4 separate regions of the Homo sapiens genome follow, and all the other regions are linked to region 2. The links are contacts of gene promoters, found by promoter capture Hi-C in blood cells and fetal thymus (Javierre and others, 2016). All regions are on one chromosome and are shown on one strand. The core of a region is centred on a gene start or on the middle of the fragment in contact, and the rest is flanking DNA. Distances in the headings are between cores, read along the strand shown.

What was found. The method cuts DNA at HindIII sites, captures the fragments that hold promoters and counts their contacts. A CHiCAGO score of 5 or more calls a contact.
Region 1: a fragment that was not itself captured here is called in contact with the fragment with the promoter of SYNCRIP in region 2 in 2 of 17 cell types (naive B cells and total B cells); the score reaches 9.8 in naive B cells.
Region 3: a fragment that was not itself captured here is called in contact with the fragment with the promoter of SYNCRIP in region 2 in 2 of 17 cell types (total CD8 T cells and naive B cells); the score reaches 9.0 in total CD8 T cells.
Region 4: a contact is called between a fragment that was not itself captured here and the fragment with the promoter of SYNCRIP in region 2, in 2 of 17 cell types (non-activated CD4 T cells and naive CD8 T cells). The highest score is 10.3, in non-activated CD4 T cells.

The regions. Positions count from the first base shown.
Region 1 is chr6:96,931,378-96,936,896 of GRCh38, forward strand. All of the region lies in intron 1 of KLHL32 (kelch like family member 32), which reads left to right. Among named protein-coding and RNA genes, the nearest start is that of KLHL32, 9.4 kb to the left of the region's middle. RefSeq lists a silencer at 2,063-2,263. The HindIII fragment of the contact is 7,230 bases long and covers 87-5,519 here.
Region 2 is chr6:85,639,117-85,644,658 of GRCh38, forward strand. It overlaps SYNCRIP (synaptotagmin binding cytoplasmic RNA interacting protein), which reads right to left and starts at 3,770. Exons shown (of 11, transcript NM_006372.5): 1 at 3,681-3,770; 2 at 2,176-2,335; 3 at 1,330-1,448; 4 at 1,105-1,212. The coding sequence starts at 2,323. RefSeq lists silencers at 2,820-2,869, 3,090-3,239, 3,830-4,849. The HindIII fragment of the contact is 3,992 bases long and covers 1,405-5,396 here.
Region 3 is chr6:73,513,305-73,518,475 of GRCh38, forward strand. It overlaps EEF1A1 (eukaryotic translation elongation factor 1 alpha 1), which reads right to left. Exons shown (of 8, transcript NM_001402.6): 6 at 5,050-5,171; 7 at 4,726-4,960; 8 at 2,446-4,630. The coding sequence ends at 4,506. Among named protein-coding and RNA genes, the nearest start is that of EEF1A1, 5.1 kb to the right of the region's middle. RefSeq lists a silencer at 2,022-2,316. The HindIII fragment of the contact is 197 bases long and covers 3,734-3,930 here.
Region 4 is chr6:96,901,501-96,906,854 of GRCh38, forward strand. It overlaps a transcript of KLHL32 not described here. Among named protein-coding and RNA genes, the nearest start is that of NDUFAF4, 6.3 kb to the left of the region's middle. The HindIII fragment of the contact is 8,724 bases long and covers 1-5,354 here.

The sequences.
Region 1 (5,519 bases), core at 2,452-4,951, about 11 Mb after region 2:
CCTAGACAGCAGCAGGAACTGCTAGCAGCCTACCACATAGGAAGTTAGCCTGAGCAGTATATTGTAGGATCCCATAGACTGAGCTAAGCTTTGTTTTCATCATACAATGGATTATAAAGCCTGTCCTTAAATAAAATACTTTTTCTTGTGCTAAATGTGTTCTGCTTATACCTGGTATGGATGTATGCATATGTTTATATATTTCAATATTTCTAAAGATATAGTGCAATTTCATAATTCAGATGCATTTTTACTAGTTGGTAACATTACTTGAGATACCTAAAATAAGAAAGACAAGTTTAGTGATTGTTAAAGACAGAAAATCCTTTACTCATTTCTTTATAGCTCCAGAAAAGAATATGGTAAAAAATGTTTTGTAATGGAGATTGATTATAGTGAGATGTAGATTCTCAGCTGAAAAATATGGTAGCCGAGATGACATCAGTGCCAAGTCTTTTGTCTGCATCACATTCACAGACCAGCAAAGTTACAAAATCATTATGAAAAAAAAGCCTACTCTAAATGTGAAGATACCAGTTTATTCTAAACTACTCCCCAAGCAATAGTTATGGTTATTATTTTGGAAATTTAGGTTCATAATTAATATGGATATCTGAGTGGAGGAGATTTATTTTGATAGAGTCTCTCGTTCACTTGTTTCCTCATCTACTCTGCTTGACATTTTCTGAAAGGAGACTTTCTCTTAAAAAAAATACTGTTTTGTGATAGGCAGTGGTGTAGATGTAATCAGATGCCCCTTTGGCTGCATAAAGATTCACTAGTCTTTCCTAGCCTGATGTCCTTGAGCTGATAGAACTGACTGGGTTATTTTTTTTTTTTTTTTGAGATTTCAAAGCCTAAAGAAATATGGAATCAATGTTTTTTTTTTCCATGAAAACATTAATTACCTACAATCTGATTTAATTTTGCCATAGCTTATCTTCTTTAGCTTTGGGCCAAAGCTATTTATCATTTCTTGGAGGTATTCAAGATCACCTACAGATGGGGCCTCCTAATAGAGCAAAAGTCATTTAAGAAACTCATGCACAGCCCTTAGGCCTTTCTATATAGCATTTAACTTGACTTTTTTCTGAAATCCCTAAGATTTGTGAGTCTTAGTGTCATTTGTAGGGTTTTCTGATGTTTCCCTTCTCTCACCTTGTACTGTTTCACAAAGTTGTCAATTTCCCCCCCCCCCTTTTTTTTTTTGAGACAGATTCTCGCTCTGTCACCCAGGCTGGAGTGCAGTGGTATAGTCAGCTCATTGCAGACTTAATCTCCCGGGCTCAAGCAATCCTACCACCTCAGTCTCCCATGTAGTTGGAACTATAGGTGTGTATCACCACACCCAGCTAATTTTTAAAAATTTTTTTGTAGAGATGGGTGTCTCACTATGTTTCCCTGGCTGGTCTCGAGCTCCTGGGCTCAAGCAATTCTTCCACCTTGGGCTTCCAAAGTGCTGGAATTAGAGATCTGAGCCACTGTACCTTACCAAGTTGCCAATTTTTGATTTCTGTGTTTCATGCTGTTTTTATCAATGTTAGCCATCAGAAGCCTGCAATTAATTATTGTCATTACATTTTGTTAATTGCTTTAACATCAAATATTAATATATTCTGTATATGTAACTGCCAAGGGGTTTGCAGATGTGGGTGGAATTCTTTGACCAGCACATCATTTTCCTAGTGGTTAAGGGTTTAGTGGTTAAGGATTTCACTAGCATGGAATTAGGACAGGATGAATTAGTTACATGGTTTATCTGTGCAGGAGCATCACCCCAACATAACGCCTTTGAAAACAACGACATATTTTACTCCTGGACCCAGTAAGGGATGAAATTCCCTTACCCCTCAAAACACGTGCCTTGATTACTGAATTTTTCCTTTTGGGCACTGTATTCTTGGAATTCTGCTTCCTCTACTTGGACCTCTTTTGGGAGATTTATATCCTGTGATTGCTTCAGAATTCCGTTGCCATCCATTCTTTGTTCATGTGGAAACTTAGAGTGCCTCAGTCAGCAGCTATTGGTGTAAGACTCCTTTGTTGGATGCAGGGACAAGGCAAGGTTGGAAGAAGACTTCTTGCCTCTCAACATTAAGTGAGCCCTTCACATCAGTGGCCAACTGTTGACCAAGATGTTTAAGAAACACAGGTTATCATTGCTCTCAAGAACTTCCTTAGTTCTTAGATGTGATTCATTTCCCCTTTGTATCTGGAGCCTCATGGTTGACCTCAGGGATGGAAGCATATTGACAGTTTCAGGAGAGAGTCTTTCTATGTGGTGGAATAGCACCCACCAGTATCTCAGCTGGGACAGAGGGTCATCTCCCAGGAGCCAGCCACATGTCCCTCCTTGGCCAGTTTTGAGACCTCCTAAGGACAGTGCCAGGGTTAATAAGGCCTTTTCTTTAGGCAGCAGTCACTCATGGTGGCTTGAGTCACAGATCAGTACTGAAAATCTCTCACTGTTATTGCTTCTGTGGATTACAGTTAGGCTAGGGGTTGACACAGTAAGTGGATTGGGAGAGCAAAAGCAGGTGGAATCAGTTTCCTTGAGTTTTCACTCTGTAAGGAGTGACCTTGACTTCAGAACTCTGTGCCTAAGTCTCCTGTATAAATTGGGATAACACAGATAATCTCACTTTTCTCACATTGTCATCCATGACATAAAATTAGATATGTTAAGTGCTTTGTTTGTATTAAGAGTGCTCTGATACTGCTTTTGACTGGGCATTGTAGGACCTTGCGTCAGAAAATCATATATTTACCACTGTCCTGCAAATACGTGCACTCTAGAGGTTTGCAACAAGGCTGGTCCTCAGAATGACCTGAGGTTGTTTCGAAAATATAGATTACTGGATCTTCTATACTTACTGTGTGAGAATCTGCATTAGTATTGAGTCATTTGTGTATTAAGAAACTCCCATTGAGTAATTATGGTGATAGGTCTACTTTGGGAGATGTGGTCTAGAGTGCAGTGAGCTGCTCACACTCTGCTTCTTATTCCTACCTTCCGAGGACCAGCCAGGCCATCTGGATCTGGGCCTCAGCTTTCTTGTCATTGACACTTAACAACAACAACAAAAAAATAGCAAGTTAAATCAGTTCTGATGTCAGTGCTCTCCAGATACTCAGTGGACATTTAAACAACACAAACAATTCTCTACCAACCAGGTGCCCTGTCTGGGTAGAAGTCTTGATGTGTGATTAACATCTTTACTACTGAAACAGAGGTTATCATTTTCTACTAAAATTTGTGTATAACTAATTAGGCGGATTGCTGCAGAGAGCAGCTAATATCCTCATAGTTGTCCATATGGTAGCTCGGTTGATTAATAACATACATTTCTGCATAAGATAAAACTAAATACTTTTTAATTTTATACTTTTTAGATTTAGAGCATTGATAGTGATTACATGGCTTTATGTAAGCCAACTGGAGAATGCCATTTCCACTGTGGATATAATCTTATGGGTCATTGATTAACAGGTTAGTAGTGAACTGCTGCAGGATAGTATGGATATAGCACGATATGAGGAGCAGAGAGACTACAGTTTCAAATTGTAGCTTGATCTTTATTTTTGCGAGAGTTCAAAATGTGCTTTTGAATATTAGGCATTTTGAAGAGATATGCAATTGTTAAGCACCAGTATACAGATAAGAAGAAAAAGAAACCTTGCCATTAGACAACTTGGAAGGCATAAATGAATTGCCGACATCTACAAAAATGATCAAGGTTATGCATGGCAGGATGTTGCTTAATTGTAATTTTAAGAGAATTCATTTTGTGGTGTGTGACTAGCTGAGAGAAAGGCAGACATCATACTTAGGTTTGCCTGTCTATGGTAATTTAATTATTATTGACTATTGTGATGGCTTCCCTGATGTTGAGTTAGGTACAAACCTGCTCAATTCCTATTGCAGGAAACTTTTTAATACTTAATAATATTTTGACTTGAAGAAAAAGTCTTTTGACCTGAAGAATGACCATTTCAGGACTAGAATTGTTTTATTGAGTTACCTTTTCCCCCCATAAAGTAAGGTAAATGCTGTCTGTGGAACTTCGGCAAATTAGATTTTGGTTGGACTCTTCTGCCTTTTTTGTGAAGGAAAAGAGGAGGGGTCTGGGAGAAAAGAGGGAACACTAACTGTGAAACCGCGTCTATCATCAATTGATTTTGAACTTGCAGCCTCATTAGGTGGTTAGTATTGGGCCATCCAGCCAAAATTATCTTTTTGGCCATCTGTGCCAAATTATAGGGAGTAATAGCCTTGGGCACAGCTGCTGAGTCTAATGTGTATTTCTAACTTGTGTATTAATGATAATGACTGCATAGAGAAGTCCAGTGACCAAATGTGCAGAATAAATAAGAAGGAACAAAATATATGTAAATTTAGAATTAAAAGAAAGGAAAATCTCTGTTTTACATCAGGAAATGACAGTACATATTTATTTAAATCTCTATGCAATAATATGACCTTTTTCTACTCCATCTCTTCACAGTTTCTCCTAAGGAGAAATAAATCTTAAGAGAGATTGGCTTTGAATTTTGGTCCTTCTATGTGGTGCTTCTTGAATTTGCTCTGTGATAGGACACGGGTTTTATTACTGTATCCCAACATTGATTGGGCCTTTTCTCAGCTCAGCCTGTCCCTTTAAGAGAATCACTCAGGAGTGACTGACTGCCTTTGGTGTCACTGTACTTTTTGTTGGTCAGCTGGGGCCAGCAGTAGGACCTTTATAGGCAGGCTAAGTCTAATGTCACTAGAAATATAATTAAGAAATTATAAGAAAATGAGATATTCCATAATCCAATGACTAAGGATAAAGAATGCTAAGAATCAGGATTTTAAATAGACATGTCTACATTTTGCATGGCCGTTCATTTCTCTAAAGTATCTTAACTAATGAATATATTGGAAGGAAACCTACCTTATAGTGAAGGAAGCCTTTTAAAAACTCACCCAAAGAAAGTGAAATGATTTGGCACATAGAACATAGTAGCATAGTTCCCTATACATGCTTTACAATTTTTTTTCCTTCAAGCCTACCTCATCCAGAGCCTCTCCATTTTTGGTTGTTCAGCACCCAAACCTTGGAAACATCCTTAGCTTCTTCCTCTCACAACTTACATCCAAACAGTCAGGAAATTCTGTTGGCTCTACCTTCAAAGTATACCCAGAATCTGACCATATGTCACAACTTCCCACTACCATTCTTGTCCCAGTCAACATTACCTGTTGCTTAAATCATTGCAGCAGATCCCCAGAAGGTCTTCTTTGCCTCCTATAGACTCTTCTCCACACAGCAGCCAAAAATTTTGTTTTAAAACCTGAATGAGGCTATATTTCTTTGCCTAAAACTGCAGCAGCTTCCATCCCAAGAACCAGACCCTGTATACCATCTATCCCTCTCTTATCTCCCATTGCCTTGCCCATTCCTGCCTTAGAACTGGTGTCTCACAGTTGGTAATACCCTCGGCCTGGAATGCCCTGCCTCCTGCCTACCCGCAGGCCC
Region 2 (5,542 bases), core at 2,520-5,019:
AGAATTGCTCGAACCCGCGAGGTGGAGGTTGCAGTGAGCCAAGATCACGCCACTGCACTCCAGCCTGGGTGACAGAGTAAGACTCTGTCTCCCAAAAACAAACAAACAAACAAACAAAAAATTAAGCCACCCCCTTGCAAAAAAAACTGAAAGCTAAAAGTCACAAACTAAAAGTTTAAAAACTTTAGTTCTAGCTCACCAATGCAAACTTGATTACAACTGAATTACAATGGAGACAACTATACTCCACTTTTATGGAAAAACTAGATTTACAGATCAAACTCAATTCACTCACAGCTAGATCTGTGAAAGCCTCCAATTCATGGTTGTCTTAAACAGCTAACTCCATATACCAACCTTTTCCATATTCTAGGCTTTCCCTGTTTCCACACCACTACAACAATGCTCAAGGCCTATACCCTTAACTGATTTTCTTAAACCATACGCTTGGCTCAAGAGCACTGGCACACTACAAAGCACACCAGGTTAAAAAGTAATACAATCACCACATTGTCTATAAATTAGAAAACTCACCAATATAAATATCAAAACCAAGCTGAATTTGAAGCCATTCACCATGATTTTAAACCAAAAAAAAAGCCTCCTCCTCCTAGCCTCAGTTTCTCATCTACATACCCACACTAAACAATCTTATTGTCAAAGCTGCTTTGAGAAATAGTCTAATAATCCATACTGATGGAAGTGGAGGGCAGCAGGGTTAACATTCTAAATTCATTGGGGTTTGAGACTCCTAAAAAAAAAAGCCAGTTGCCAAATGTACATTCTCCATCAGTATTTCAACTGTCAATAAGCTGGCTTTGCAGCTTTTCAAAAAATATTCTAGAGGTATCATGGGTGTGTTTCTTTATACTAGGACTACCAATAGAACAGATTTAAACATCAGTAGCTGGATAACATGATAAACTTCACAGCAAATTGCTTTAGAAACAAATAGTTTAAAAAAACTTAAAAAAAGGAATTAGGAAAGATTGATGAATTATCTCAACATCTAACATACATCCATTTCATACCCAAGGAATATTTACCAAAATTAGGAAACAGTTAAAATGACTTTAAAACTAAAGGGAGTATAGAAAGACATACCTTAATTTTTGCCTCATCTGGTCCTTTACTAGAATCTGCTACTTTGGTCCCTTGTTTTTCTCTCTGCCTGTAAGTCTTCATGACTCCACATAAAAAGGCACTTTTGTTCTGCAAAAAAATGTTCCATTAATATTTAACAATAACCATATCTGAGTCTAATAAAATTCAGCAGATAGTATCAAAACTACTCAAATTTTTTAATTTTCACATTGACATTAACATTACCTGAACATGAGAGAGATCACTGTCTTTAAACTGTTGAAGAACTGCCAATGCACCGTCTTCATTGAATTCTTTTAAAGCTTCAATAGCTCTTTCATCTAAATCACTATGTGCAACTAGCCCTGAAAAAAATAAAAGTTATCAGCTTTTAATATTTTTAGAAAAGATTTTTTAGAGAAGACTATGTTGGCAATACAGGTACATGTGTGCCTTTACAATTCTTCTACTCCCCTCATCTATACCTGAAAAAAAAAAAACACACACTTCAGCCACTCTGAACTGAATCCTGAACTAAATATGCCCTACCAACCACACTTACAATAATCAGCTAACTTCTTTTACATCTTTTATCTCCAAAGTCTGATAACTCTGAACACTACGGTATTTTTACAGTATACAGACTTACGAATCCTAGAATCAACCAACAAAGTACCAAGCATGACAACTGAACCTCTACTCAATTTCAAATACCACCAGAAAAAGTTAACAGCCGCACCAGAAAGACAAGAAAACAAGTCTACAGTTACCAAGTTATTTAAGAAGAATCCTACTATAAAAATACTCAAAAAAGTCACATGGCCTGTTCCCAACATTTAGCAGCTGTTGCTACTATCATATACTTATCCATCAGGCCAGCATGCAAGCCAGCCTTTAGCTCCTAACCTTCTCTTCTTCCCTCCCTCTATACATCTTAACCTCTACTTCAAACTTAAATTAACCAACTATCACAACAAGCAAAACTCCAGTACCCACACTTATTGGAAACCACAAAAAGTTGCTATTTTAGCTCAAAGCCAGAAATCCAATAGAAAAATTTCATAATGTAATTTTGCAAGTGTTAGTTCTTACCTGCAACGTAAATTTCATCTAGTTTTTCAGCAACTTTCTGTGGTAAACCAGCATCAAGCAATGTCTGAAAATTTTCTGAATGGATAACTGCAGAAGTAGTATCCATGGGCTCTTCAGTACCATTTCCATTAACATGTTCTGTAGCCATGTTTCCAGAGATCTGTTCAAACGCAATAAGCAAAATTAAACTAGGATCTTCAAAAAGAATACAAGACAATATGAGAGCCCCATCTTTACTTTCTCTACCATTTACTACACCAGCTAGCCTATACCTCCCTTTAAAAAAGCCTTACAGTCACTATCGCCTGACAAGCCAGATTTGGAGCACAGGGCACAGAAGGACCGATTCACCATATTCTTCCTCAGCACCACCCCTGACTCACCTGCTAACACTCCCTAGGAAAAACCATATTACAAATAGAGCCCAATCAGCACGGGTACGAGCCAGCGTGCCACATGCAGCTGTGCCCGTTCGGAAAATGAGGTGTGTGTGGAGAAAGCAAAACTGGGCTCCTCTCTCTCAAAGATAAACCCCCAAAGTGCGCGCTTTTCCCGCCTGCCGCTTATAGATCGGTAACAACAGCCAGCGAAGAACAAAGCGCTCATACAAGCCACCTTCCCACCACCCAATTTCTCCACCCTTTAACCCCGCACCCCAAAGCCCGCCCCTGACTCCGCACCCAGAGCGGCAGTCTCACCACTGCGGCCGCCAGGAGCCCATTAGAAACACGTGCTCTGCGCCTTCCAATGTCCTACAACTTCCTTCAACGGCAACCCAACGAATCCCAAACCAAGACGACCATCACTGGTTCCCAACATCAACCCGAAGCCGCGGTCGGAGCCCCCAGAAAGCTGCAGCAGCACAATCTCTCCCCTGAACACCGAGGCACCGGCGGCGCCAGGCCACAGGCTCTCCCCGCCCCCCAGCGCCGCCGTCTCCGCCGTGACACATGGCTCTCCGCCCCTGGCGCTCCCCGGGCGCCGACGACCCCCGGCCGCCCGCCCGGCCGAGACGTGACCCGTGGCGCGCTGTGCAGGTCCCCACCCCTTACCCTTCCGTGCAGTGACTGCGACGCCTGCCCGGCAACCCAGCAGCGTGAGGGCGTTCAGCGGACGGCTCAACGCCCGCGGGACCGTGAGCACCGCCCAAGCTCGCCGCACGGCTGCAGGACAAGACCCACTCCTCTCCGCCCACTCCCGCGCCGCGGCGACCGCCACGACAGCACCAACTCTGAAGCCGCTCGCGGTCCGTGCGGGCCACGGGACCGTGGAGGCGCCTCCTCCCAAAGCGCCGCAGACAAAGCCCGAACCGCAGCAGCACATGGAAAGGAGGAAGTGGCGGCGCGGGCCGCGGCCTACTCCCAGGCAGCCCCAGTCAACGTGCTCTTCTCCCCATTGGAATCCATTTTCCAGAAAAGCCGGTTTCTACCCGCGCCACCCTCCCCCAGCTCACTCCACAATGTCATGGAGCTCCCCTCCCACACCCAGGTTCTGGCAGTCGTTACCTCCCCGTTGGGCTGAGGCGGAGAAATCCTGTCCGATGGTATCGGGTTGCGGGAAACGCGTGCTCGCTGCTCCCTGTGTCCGGCGCGAGTGGAGCTGTTGTAAAATGGCGGCCGAAGCTCACGCCGCTGGCAGCAAACCCGATCCAGTTCCACTCGCCTCCGAGCGCGCTCCCGGTGCGCGCGCGCGCCCCCGCGTGACCCCCCCTTCCCTTCCCTTCCCTTCCCTCCCCTCCCTCGCGCGTCCGCTTCACTCACTCCCTCAGCCCCTGCCCTCCTCCAGCTCCTCCTTCTCCCCCTACCACCACCACCACCACTAGCCTCTGTCCGCCTTCTCTCGGCCTTTCTTATTCCCGCCCCCCGCTCCTTTACCCCACTGCTCCCACTCCCCTCTGCGGTCGCTCAGGCACGAGTGGCCGCCTTTCCCCTTCTGGCTCGCACGCTCCCTCACTCCCTCCCTCGCTCGCTCGCACTCTCGGCCCGGTCCCCCAGTCCCTGCCGAGTCGGCTCCTCTCTTTCTCTCTCCCGCGCTGACGTGACAACGTAGCCTACGCCTCGGGACGCGCGCCCGCGGGCTCCGCCCCCACGCCGCGCCGCCTTCCCCGCTCCTCACCCCTTGGGTTGGGGGTGGGGGAGGCACAAGACCCCGCCCTTCCGCTCCGACGGTGGCGGCCGAGGGGCCGAGACTGAATGAAAGGCCCGCCCCTTCCCCTCCCGACACTCCCCCTCCCTCTCCCCTCCAGGCGGGGCGGGCCGGCTCAGCGTGTCCCACTCGTTTTCCTTTGTCAGGAGACTGGCATCTCCCCACCCCGCCCCACCCCACCCCCTCCCCGCGACACCATGCGCACGCCACCCCCACCGAGCTCCCGCCCGCCCCATCCCTGCCCGGTCCGGGGCTGGCGGGGCAGAGTGCTGTGGGCGCTGAGTGCGACTGCCGCTTCCCGGAGGGCACCCACCGGTCTGTGCGCGCCCGGCCCCCGCCCCCGGCTCCGCGGCCGCGTAGCCGTTCCAGGCGGTGTCCACGCCGCTGCCACCGCCCCGCGCTCTCCTCCTCGGGAAGCTGCAGGCGCACGTGTCCCCCGGGGCGGGGCGAGGCAGACAATGGGGCCAAGGGGGAGGGGAGCGGCGCGGAGACCCGCGGACCTTTGGTCCGCCGGACTGGCGGTACTCGAGTGCGAGAGTCGCCCTTGGAGACTCGATCTCCCCAACTGGACAGTGGGCCCTCCTCGCAGCCGCGCGGCTCCGCTTTCACGGGAACCTTCGGCGAAGGGAGGGGCGCCCCAGGCTTGGACGCGGAAACCCCGGCTGCTTTTGAAGGGGGAACGGGGCTGGCTCCAGTGGAGCGAGGAGCGGCTCCTGCCTTGGGATGACACGAAGGCCAGATTTGGAAGCGAAACCGCCCGGTGGTGAAGGGTTGTGCAATACTCCGTTTCAGTCCCTGGCCTTTTAAGCAGTTAAGGGCTTCCTCCTGGCACAGTTTGAGCAACTTGAAACAGCACAAAGCTGCGTGGTTAGAACAACTTTGAGAAAAATGTCTGTGTTTCTTTTAAAAAAAACCTTGGCAACTAAATCTTCTGTGAAATGACGTTTCCTTTATAATCGTTTACTAGGTACAAGAAAGACAAGACAAAGGCATTTGAATTACAGACGCGATATGGATACTAATTTTATCCAGGGCAGCTGTAATGAAAAATAGAAACAATGTCCTTTTGATTAAAAAGCTTATTTTTAAGAGCTTACTGGTTCCCCAGATGAGCTCTGTGCTATGATAACAAATCAGTGGTTTGAGGAAAAGTTAGATAAACACTCTTCAAAGTGCACAAGCACATAAAATGCTAGATTATTTTCATAGCTACTTGGATCAG
Region 3 (5,171 bases), core at 2,582-5,081, about 12 Mb before region 2:
TTTCCTTCATAGTACCATCACAACTCAAAAGTAGCTAATTTTATTTATTGAATCTCTATCTCCCCCACTAACTATAAACTCAAAGGTCAATAACCATGTCCATTTTGTTCATAGCTCTATCCCCAATGCCTAGAACGGTGCCTAGAACATAGTAAGCACAATATTTTATAAACAAATTACTTCACTGACCTGCAAAATATCAGTTTAACACTCAGGTAGTCTATTTGTCTTCCTCAAAAAAGTTGATCTCTTAATTACTAAATGGTTCAACCACTTTGGAAACAACTCGGCAGTTTCTTAAAAAGCATACGCTTTGCCACTCAGCCCAGTAATCACTTTCCTAGCTATTTACACAAGTAAAATAAAAACATTATTACATACAAAACTATATGTGGACATTTATAGCAGCTTTATTAATAATTGCCCCAAACTGGAAACAACTAAATGCCCCTCAGCTGGGAATGAATACACAAACTGTCATACACCCATTAAAAAGTAAGAGATTACTGATATATACAGGCTCACGCCTGTAACCCCAGCACTTTGGGAGGCCAAGACGGGCAGACCACCTGAGGTCAGGAGTTGGAGACCAGCCTGACCAACATGGTAAAACCCGGTCTCTACTGAAAATACAAAAATTAGGCAGGTGTGGTGGTGGGCACCTGTGGTCCTAGCTACTCAGGAGGCTGAGGCAGAATTGCTTGAACCTAGGAGACGGGGTCTCACTGTTGCCGAGGCTGGAGTACATAGCACCATCATAGCTCACTGCAGCCTCAGCCTCCCAGGATGAAGCGATCCTCCTGCCTGAACCCCCCAGAGTAGCTTGGGACTACAGGTGTGTACGACCATGCCCAGCTAATTTTTATTATTATATATATACTTTTTTGAGACGAAGTCGCACTTTGTCGTCCAGGCTGGAGTGCAGTGGCGCAATCTCGGCTCAGTGCAAACTCCGCCTCCCGGGTTGATGCTGTTCTCCTGCCTCAGCCTCCCGAGTAGCTGGGACTACAGGCGCCCACCACCATGCCCGGCTAATTTTTATTTTTAGTAGAAACGGGGGCTTCACCGTTTTAGCCAGGATGGTCTCGATCTCCTGACCTTGTGATCCGCCCACCTCGGCCTCCCAAAGTGCTGGGATTACAGGCGTGAGCCACTGCACCCGGCATCTTTATTTTTTGAGACAGTCTTGCCCTGTCACCCAGGCTGGAGTGCCCTGGCAAGATCTTGGCTCACCGCAACCCCCACCTTCCAAGCTAAAGGGATTCTCCTGCCTCAGCCTCAGTTGGGACTATAGGCATGTGCTACCACACCTTGCTTTTCTTTTGTATTTAGCAGATCTTCTCGCCTCAGCCTCCCAAAGTGCTAGGATTCGAGGCACTGCGCCCAGCCTTTTGCTTTTTTTTTTTTTTTTTTTTTGAGATGAAGTCTTTCTCTGTCGCCCAGGCTGGAGTGCAGTGGTGTGATCTTGGCTCAGCCTCGTAACTATAGGCACCTGCCACCACACCCAGCTAATTTTGTATTTTCAGTAGAGATGGGGTTTCAGCATATTAGCAAGGCTGGTCTGAACTCCTGACCTTGTGATCTCCCCACCTCAGCCTCCCAAAATGGTGGAATTACAGGCGTGAGCCATGACCTGGCCTGCTTCATTTTCTAATATCCCTTGCTTAGAATTATTGCAACATTAACGTTTATCTTCATTGTCATTGTCTCCCATAGAACCCACAAAACTAAACCTTGAGATCCATGGGCCTGCTAAAAACAGTCCCAAAGTAAATGACAAAAATGTTTAATTGCCAATAATTAGGTAAGAGAAAAAGGACAGTTAAATATCAGGGTAGTTCTAGCTGAATGAAATCTTTTAGAATTACACTAAAAAGTAAATGGTAAGTTACTAAGTTTGGAACTTCATCTCAAAAGAAAAAAAACCATGAAGATAACACAATGCTAAAATGTGGCCTGTCAGTGTAAACTGTCAACATTCTCCACTATAAAGAACTGAAACTGGGTTGAGGTTAGTAGGTCTGAACAAATCGTGTCCCACTAAGAGCACATGGGTTCTTCCTTGAGTCACTGCCGAGGCCCTGGCACATCTGAGATTTAAAAGATAAATATCAGATTAACTGGGAAAGATACAGTACAGGCAGATCACTTGAGCCCAGGAGTTGACCAGCCTTGGCAACATGGCAAAATACAAAAATTAGCCAGGCGTGGTGGCAAAAACCTGTGGTCCCTGCTATTCAGGGAAGATCACTTAAGCCCAGAAGTCAGGACTGCAGTTAGCCGTTAACTTCCACTCCAACCAGGGCAGGAGTAAAACCCTGTCTAAACAAAAAAAGCCAAGCACTACCTTGAAATCAACTGAAGTTAGCTCTCACTTTTGAAATCCACTCCAAAATTTGTAACCAATTCCAACATAGTAACTGTTAAAAGAAATGCCACTTCATCTTAAAGCTTAAAATTCATTTATTGTAGTGAGCAAGTTTGTAATGAATACCAGCAGGTGGTGCTCAAGCCACAGTTGTCTAAGACACTGGGTTTCACAGGAAGTTAATCTCAATCTCAGTATATGCAAGTAAACTGACTCATTCCTGCTTCCAGTGGGAACAATTTTTCAGTTAAATCTTGCTTCCTTGCATGTCAAGAATTCTCTACTGGTAAATCTTACAGGTGTCAACTTTCATTATCAGGGCATCTATTGGCCATCTATTAAAGGCCTTACCTGTTTTTTCTGTCATCCAGCAAATCTTAGACTATTTACTTGTGTAAACATTAGATAGCAAAGAAACTAAGGACAAAAATCTCTAGTTCAATTTAGACTTGATACCTCAGAGCACTGGCTGATGGGAAGGCATTTTATCTAATTCAGACTCAGATGAGGGAAAACGATAACACTTCATTACAGACTTGTCTATGGCCAATTCAAGTACCTTTGAATCTTGAGCAATACACATTGCCAGTCACTTTAAGAGGCCTTATCTCTTGGGCTGCTTTAACTCCTGCTTAGCATGTCCTTAAGAACACATGTCCTGGCCAGGCATGGTGGCTCATGCCTGTAATTCCAGCACTTTAGGAGGCCGAGGCGATCACCTAAGGTCAGGAGTTTGAGACCAGCCTGACCAACATGGAAAAACCTCATCTCTATTAAAAACACCAAATTAGCACATGCCTGTAATCCCAGCTACTTGGGAGGCTGAAGTAGGAGAATTGCTTGAACCCAGGAGGAGGAGATTGCAGTGAGATTTTGCCATTGCATTCTAGCCTGGGCAACAAGAACTCCATCTTAAAAAAAATTTTTAAAAACCATCACACAAACAGAAAGCATGTCCTTTAATTTTACCTATCCTTCAAACTTAAGCAAAAATTTTCCTTTTATAACCAAAAAAAAACCTTTAGACACTTTTACATATGGGAGGTCAGGCACAGTGGCTCATGCCTGTAATCCCAGCAGGAAGATCGCGAAAAGCATTTTTCAAATGCACAAATGCTTAAAGATTCAGGAGTAAGTGGGCTATTACACCTGTTAAGCCTATTACCATGTAGTTTCATTCCTAGTGACCAAGTAGACAAACTGCTAATTATCAAAGCATAAAAGGTATTAGACTCTGCAGGAGAAAAGCAATGTAGATTAGTCTAATTTTATAGCTACTTCAAATTGCCATCTTTTTCTATTAGAACCTTGTTCCTATTCTGAATAGCACTCAATAGAACTTGTGAAACCATCAAACTGGCATAAAGCTTACTCCACTGACTTCAAAATGGACCCTTCCACTCATAGGGTGTACACTAGCCACTACACTTATTTCTTATGTCATGGCAAATAGTCAACTTTCACTGCCCAGTCATTTTAACCCACGTTTCAACATGCACATCCCAGTAATTTGGAAACATTTTGTTTCCAAAGATTCACTTAACATTGGTTTAGCAACATGAAGCTTTCTATGCAACACAAGGACTCAGTTTTTGGCCTGTTTTAGTGACAGGCAATCAGCAACATGCTGCATTTCTCTCCAGTGTTGTAATCAAAGCAACCCTCCCATAGCTTTAAATGATATTCCTTCCCCTTCCAATTATGTGGGGGGAAAACAACCCTATTCTCCACCCAGAAGTGTTAACTCAAGAATTACATTTTCAAGAAGTTTCCAGATTCGTAAAACCAGAATTAGATGTCTTTCACCTAAATGTCTCGGTGTTGACCAAAGGAACACACAGGTTTCTCATTTAACTTTTTTAATGGGTCTCAAAATTCTGTGACAAATTTTTGGTCAAGTTGTTTCCATTAAAAAGTACTGATTTTAAAAACTAATAACTTAAAACTGCCACACGCAAAAAAGAAAACCAAAGTGGTCCACAAAACATTCTCCTTTCCTTCTGAAGGTTTTACGATGCATTGTTATCATTAACCAGTCTTTTACTACTAAACTTAAATGGCCAATTGAAACAAACAGTTCTGAGACCGTTCTTCCACCACTGATTAAGAGTGGGGTGGCAGGTATTAGGGATAATATTCATTTAGCCTTCTGAGCTTTCTGGGCAGACTTGGTGACCTTGCCAGCTCCAGCAGCCTTCTTGTCCACTGCTTTGATGACACCCACCGCAACTGTCTGTCTCATATCACGAACAGCAAAGCGACCTATTAAAAAAAAAGTTAATTATTACCCAAAGTACTGTTCAGTTGTATTTTTCATCTTTAACACAACTTTTTTACATTTAAGTAGTCATCCTTACCCAAAGGTGGATAGTCTGAGAAGCTCTCAACACACATGGGCTTGCCAGGAACCATATCAACAATGGCAGCATCACCAGACTTCAAGAATTTAGGGCCATCTTCCAGCTTTTTACCAGAACGGCGATCAATCTTTTCCTTCAGCTCAGCAAACTTGCATGCAATGTGAGCCGTGTGGCAATCCAATACAGGGGCATAGCCGGCGCTTATTTGGCCTGGATGGTTCAGGATAATCACCTTGGAAAAAAGATTTGCATTCAGTGCAAATCCAAAGTCTCAAATGACTTTAGCCTCTGCAATAAGTTAATGTTACTTTAAATTGTTACCTGAGCAGTGAAGCCAGCTGCTTCCATTGGTGGGTCATTTTTGCTGTCACCAGCAACGTTGCCACGACGAACATCCTTGACAGACACATTCTTGACATTGAAGCCCACATTGTCCCCAGGAA
Region 4 (5,354 bases), core at 1,478-3,977, about 11 Mb after region 2:
CAGGATAATCTCTCCATCTGAAGATCCTTGATTTAGTCACATTTGTAAAGTGCATTTTGCTATGTAAGGTAGCATTTGCAGGTTCAGGGATTAAGAGACATTTTTGGAAGGCTTATTGTTTTGTTCACTACAGTCATCAACTTTAGATGACGGTTTGCTGCACAGATCATCCCATCACCCAGGTATTAAGCCCAGTATCCATTAGATCTTCTTCCTGATTCTCTCCCTCCTCCCACCCTCCGACCTCCAACAGGCTCCAGTGTTTGTTGTTCCCCCTCCATGTGTGTATGTGTTCTCATCATTTAGCTCCCACTTATAAGTGAGAACATGCAGTATTTGGTTTTCTGTTCCTGTGTTAGTTTGCTAAAGATAATGGCCTCCAGCTCCATCCATGTCCCTGCAAAGGACATGATCTTATTCCTTTTTATGGCTTCATAGTATTCCATGGTGTATATGTACCACATTTTATCCAGTCTATCATTGATGGACAGTTAGGTTGATTCCATGTCTTTGCTATTGTGAATAGTGCTGCAATGAACATACATGTGCATATGTCTTTTTATTAATAATAGAACAATTTATATTCCTTTGAGTATATACCCAGTAATGGGATTGTGGGCTTGGATAGTATTTCTGCCTCTAGGTTTCTGGGGAATTGCCACACTATCTTCCACAATGGTTGAACTAATTTACACTCCCACCAATAGTGTAAAAGTGTTCCTTTTTCTCCACAATCTTGCCAGCATCTGTTTTTGTTTTTGTTTTTGTTTTGACATTTTAATAATAGCCATTCTGACTGGTGTGGGATGCTATCTCATTGTGGTTTTGATTTGCATTTCTCTAAGGATCAGTGATATTGAGCTTTTTTTCATGTTTGTTGGCTGCATGTATGTTTTATTTTGAGAAGTGTCTGGGCATGTTCTTTGCATACTTTTTAATTGGATTATTTGTTTGTTTCTTGTAAATTTGTTTATAGGCGTTGCATATTGGACCTTTGTCAGATGCATGGATTGCAAAACTTTTCTCCCATTCTGTAGGTTGTCTGTTTACTCTGTTGATAGTTTCTTTTTTGTGCAGAGCTCTTTAGTTTAATTAGATCCCATTTGCCAATTTTTGTTTTTGTTGCAATTGCTTTTGGTGTCTTCGTCATGAAATCTTTACCATGCCTATGTCCTGAATGGTATTGCCTAGGTTTTCTTCTAGGGTTTTCATAGTTTTGGGTTTTACATTTCAGTCTGTAATCCATCTTGAGTTGATTTCTGTGTATGGTGTAAGGAAGGGGTCCAGTTTTAATTTTCTGCATATTCTAGCCAGTTCTCCCAGCAACATTTATTAAATAGGGAATCCTTTCCCCCATTGCTTGTTTTTGTCAGGTTTGTCAAAGATCAAATGATCATAGGTGTGTGGTCTTATTTCTGGGTTCCTCTTTTCTGTTCCATTGGCCTATGTGTCTGTTCTTGTACCAGTACCATGCTGTTTTGGTTACTGTAGCCCTGTAGAATAGTTTGAAGTCAGGTAGCATGTTGCCGCCAGCTTTTTTCTTTCTGTTTAGATAAATCAAAAAATTTCTTTAAAGGACTGAAGATAAAGCAGAAATCAACCACACAGAAAACAAACAACAAAAAAAAACAGTTGGTTCCTTGAGAATATAAAATCTGACAAATTCAAGTGAAAATAAAAGAACAAATAAAATACATTAAGAATTTTTTGGAAAGAATACGATCATAAATATGGAGACATTTTTTTAAATTGAAAGAAAATATATATAAATATATATACAATTATAATACTTACTCTCATTCCCTTGTGTGACATGCTTCTAGCCAATAGAATATAGCAAATATGAATATAACACAATCGAATAGAAAAGAATAGAATAAGGAATAGATACAGAATAGAATAGATTACGGTCACTCTCATGATTACTTTACATTATATAAGACCACCTTAGGAGACAAGAGTGAGGGATTCTCCTGTTGGCTTTGAAGAAGCAAGCTGCCATGTTGTTAGAGGATCTTTGAGAGAACCTGCAAGGAGGCCATATGGCAAGGAACTTCAGGGCCTTTGGGAGGTAAGAGGAGGCCCGATGTGACAGCCCACAAGAAACAGATATCTCAATCCCACCACCATAAGGAACTTAATTTTGCCAATGACCAAGTAAGCCTGGAAGAGTACCCCTGAGCTCCAGAAATTAAGGCAGTTCAGTCAATCCTATGTAATCATTTCAATGGATTCCCAATATAGATTTGGTTAAATTCAACACCCATTACTAAAAATACATTTAGCTAACAGGGAATAGAAGAAAACTGCCTTTACTTTATAAAGGGTACAATTCAGAAAATTATGGCAAATATCGTATTGACCAGCTCACAAAGAACAAGAAAAGGAAATAAGAATTATAAATGTTATGTTATTTGTTCTTTTGCAAAATTAGCACTTCTGTCTGCCTTGAAAATTATAGAGAATCTGGCAAAGACTATTAGATCTAATAAATAAATTTAATAAGGTAGCTGAATAGCTAGCTATCCTACCCATCAGTTAGAAAACATAATGACCAAGGCCCAGGGCAATGGCTCACACCCGTAATCCCAGCACTTTTGGGAGCCTGGGGCAGGCAGATTACCTGAGGTCAGGAGATTGAGACCAGCCTGGCCAACATACTAAAACCCCGTCTCTACTATAAATACAAAAATTTTCCAGGCATGATGGTGCACATCGATAATCCCAGCTGCTCAGGAGGCTGAGGCACAAGAATAGCTTGAACCCAGGAGGCGGAGGTTGCAGTGAGCCGATATCAGGCCACTGTACTCCAGCCTGGGCAACAGAGCAAGACTTTGTCAAAAAAAAAAAAAAAAAAAAGAAAAGAAAAAGAAAGAAAATATAATGGTCAAAAAATTTCATGGATGATGACCACAAAAATTATTATGCATCTCGAAATAAACTTGAAATATGTGTAAAACTAAAACTTAGTAAACCACAAAAATTATGAAAGAACATAAAGAAACACACATGGCTAGACATACCAGGTTCCTTGATGCAAAGTCTGAATAGTGTAAAAATGTCAATTATTCAAAAAATTAATTAATTTGATACACTTTCAATTTCAATTAAAATTGTAATAGCGTTTTTAATGAAGCTCGATCACTGATAATAAAGTTCATCCAGAAAAGAAAATATGAAAGAATAGCCAATAGATTTTAGAAAAACAGCAATTAGGTAGGACTTACCCTATATCAGAATATGATATAAAACTTTATGGTATGGTATTGTTACAGGAATAGGCAAATAAATAGTGACAAGACAGATGTGATTATGTACAGGGCAACATTTAAAATCACTCTGTGATGTAAGGATATAATTCTTTCCCCATAAACAACTGAATTTCCAACATCATTTATCAGTTTGCTTTTTCCCCTTGCTCTCCATTCCCATTTATAACAATTCCCTGTCTTCTTTCTTCACTCCAGCTTTCCCTGCTGCATCAGTTTGCTTTCATACTGTATCTGTCCCTCCATGTCCTCATGAACTTGCTTTATATGGAAGTAAGGAACACCTCATCATAGCAGTTTTGGTTTGATTCCAATGAGATCTTTTTTTTCCATCCATAGCAATTTAATCAATACAACAGTTGTCCATCTTGGCCCCAGCTACAGAAGGTAGTCTTGATAATTTGGCACAGGGAAAAAAAAGTGAAAAGATGCAAAGAACAAGCAAATACTCAAGAAATCATTTTCATTTCAAAGATTATGAAAGATTATGAAAATAAAGAATATAGAACAGGGAATTCCAGAAGGACCCCAGAAAATATGTGAAAAGCAAGTTGTAACCAAAGCATTTTACCTTAACTGGTAAACCCAACTCAATAACTCCAGAGCTAGGGTCTGTGTTTGTTCTCTCCGTCTGTCTGGTCCTTTCTCCCTTTGTAACTGTCTCTGATTCTTTTCTTAGCAGCCATGGTGTAACATAATGATTACTAACCAGCTTGGCATCAGACAAACCTGCATCTGAATCTTGGTTCTATCACTTCCTGACTGCATAATTTTGTGGTAAGCTCCTTAAATTTTCTGGTATTCAGTTTCTTTATCTGTAAAATGGAAATATAACAATACTACTTATTTCATAGGGTTGTTGTGAGATATGATCCATTTGAAAGCATAAGTCTTGTCATACAGTAAACATTCAAAAACTATTAGCTATTATTCTTTTATATAACAAAATACTAATATAATAGGAAACATTTTAATAATTATAGTTTAGGTTTGATTGGCACTTTATGGCTTAGAAGTTAGTATCTTCAGATTCCTTATTCATTAACACATTATTGCAATACTCTGTAGTATTATACCCAACTATACATATTTAAGAGAACCATTTAGCTGCCTGAGGCTGTTTTTAAAATGGTGAAGGATACTCTGGGAAGTATATGAAGTGTCCTTGCTCATAGACTTTTTGGATTAGTTTCTTATTGTCAATCCATGACCTTGCAGGCACAGCTCTGCCTTTTTATTCTGGTAGTCCCACCTTTTGTTAGCTTCTGTCTCCATTGTCCCTAGGAATTGCACACAGCCACCCCTAAGCATCAGTGCACACAATCCTCTGCCGAGTTTCATTTCTGTTGGATGTGACACTGTTAGGTGAGGCAGGGAGGCAGGTGTGGTAGACAGAAGTCTATGACCCCCAATGACCCTAAACAGGGAACCCAGTTAAGCCTGCTTTGGACTTCTAACCTACAGAACCATAGAATAATAAATAGATATTGTTTTAAGCCTCTAAGTTTGTAGTGATTAGTTGTGAAGCAATAGAAAATGAATACAGCAAGAATAAAGTTGGGGATTAAGAGGGTGGTGGAATGAAGAGGGATGGGTAAAGAGACCGGGAGAATGGGATATAGCTATTATAGAAGTCATTGCAGGTCAGGTGGTGGTAGAGGTTTAAAATGATCGGAAAGAGTCTGGTTTTTATTTTCTCTGAGTGAAGGTCTCTTGAGTGGAAATTAGAGAGCCATAGGTCTCTCTTAGAAAGATGACTGACAGCTACATAAAGGATGTTTTAGAAGAGAAAGACCAGGTAAGGTGCTGTTATTCTCATCCATGTGGGAGGTTAAGTTTTTTGGTCCAATTTTCTTAGGGATATCTATTTAATAAGAGGTCTTTGTAGTGGCACTGCTTAGATATGACTTCCACTTGAGCTGGACAGATAGACAGCAACAGTAACCTAAATAGTGGGATTTGAGATTCAGAGGCTGAATAAGTATAGTCATCTATTTTTTCTCATTCCACTCTTGGTGTAGTTAATCCTTTTTAGAGCTTTTGATTCCATAGAAGCTCAGGATGTATGGATGCAATCTTGTTCAC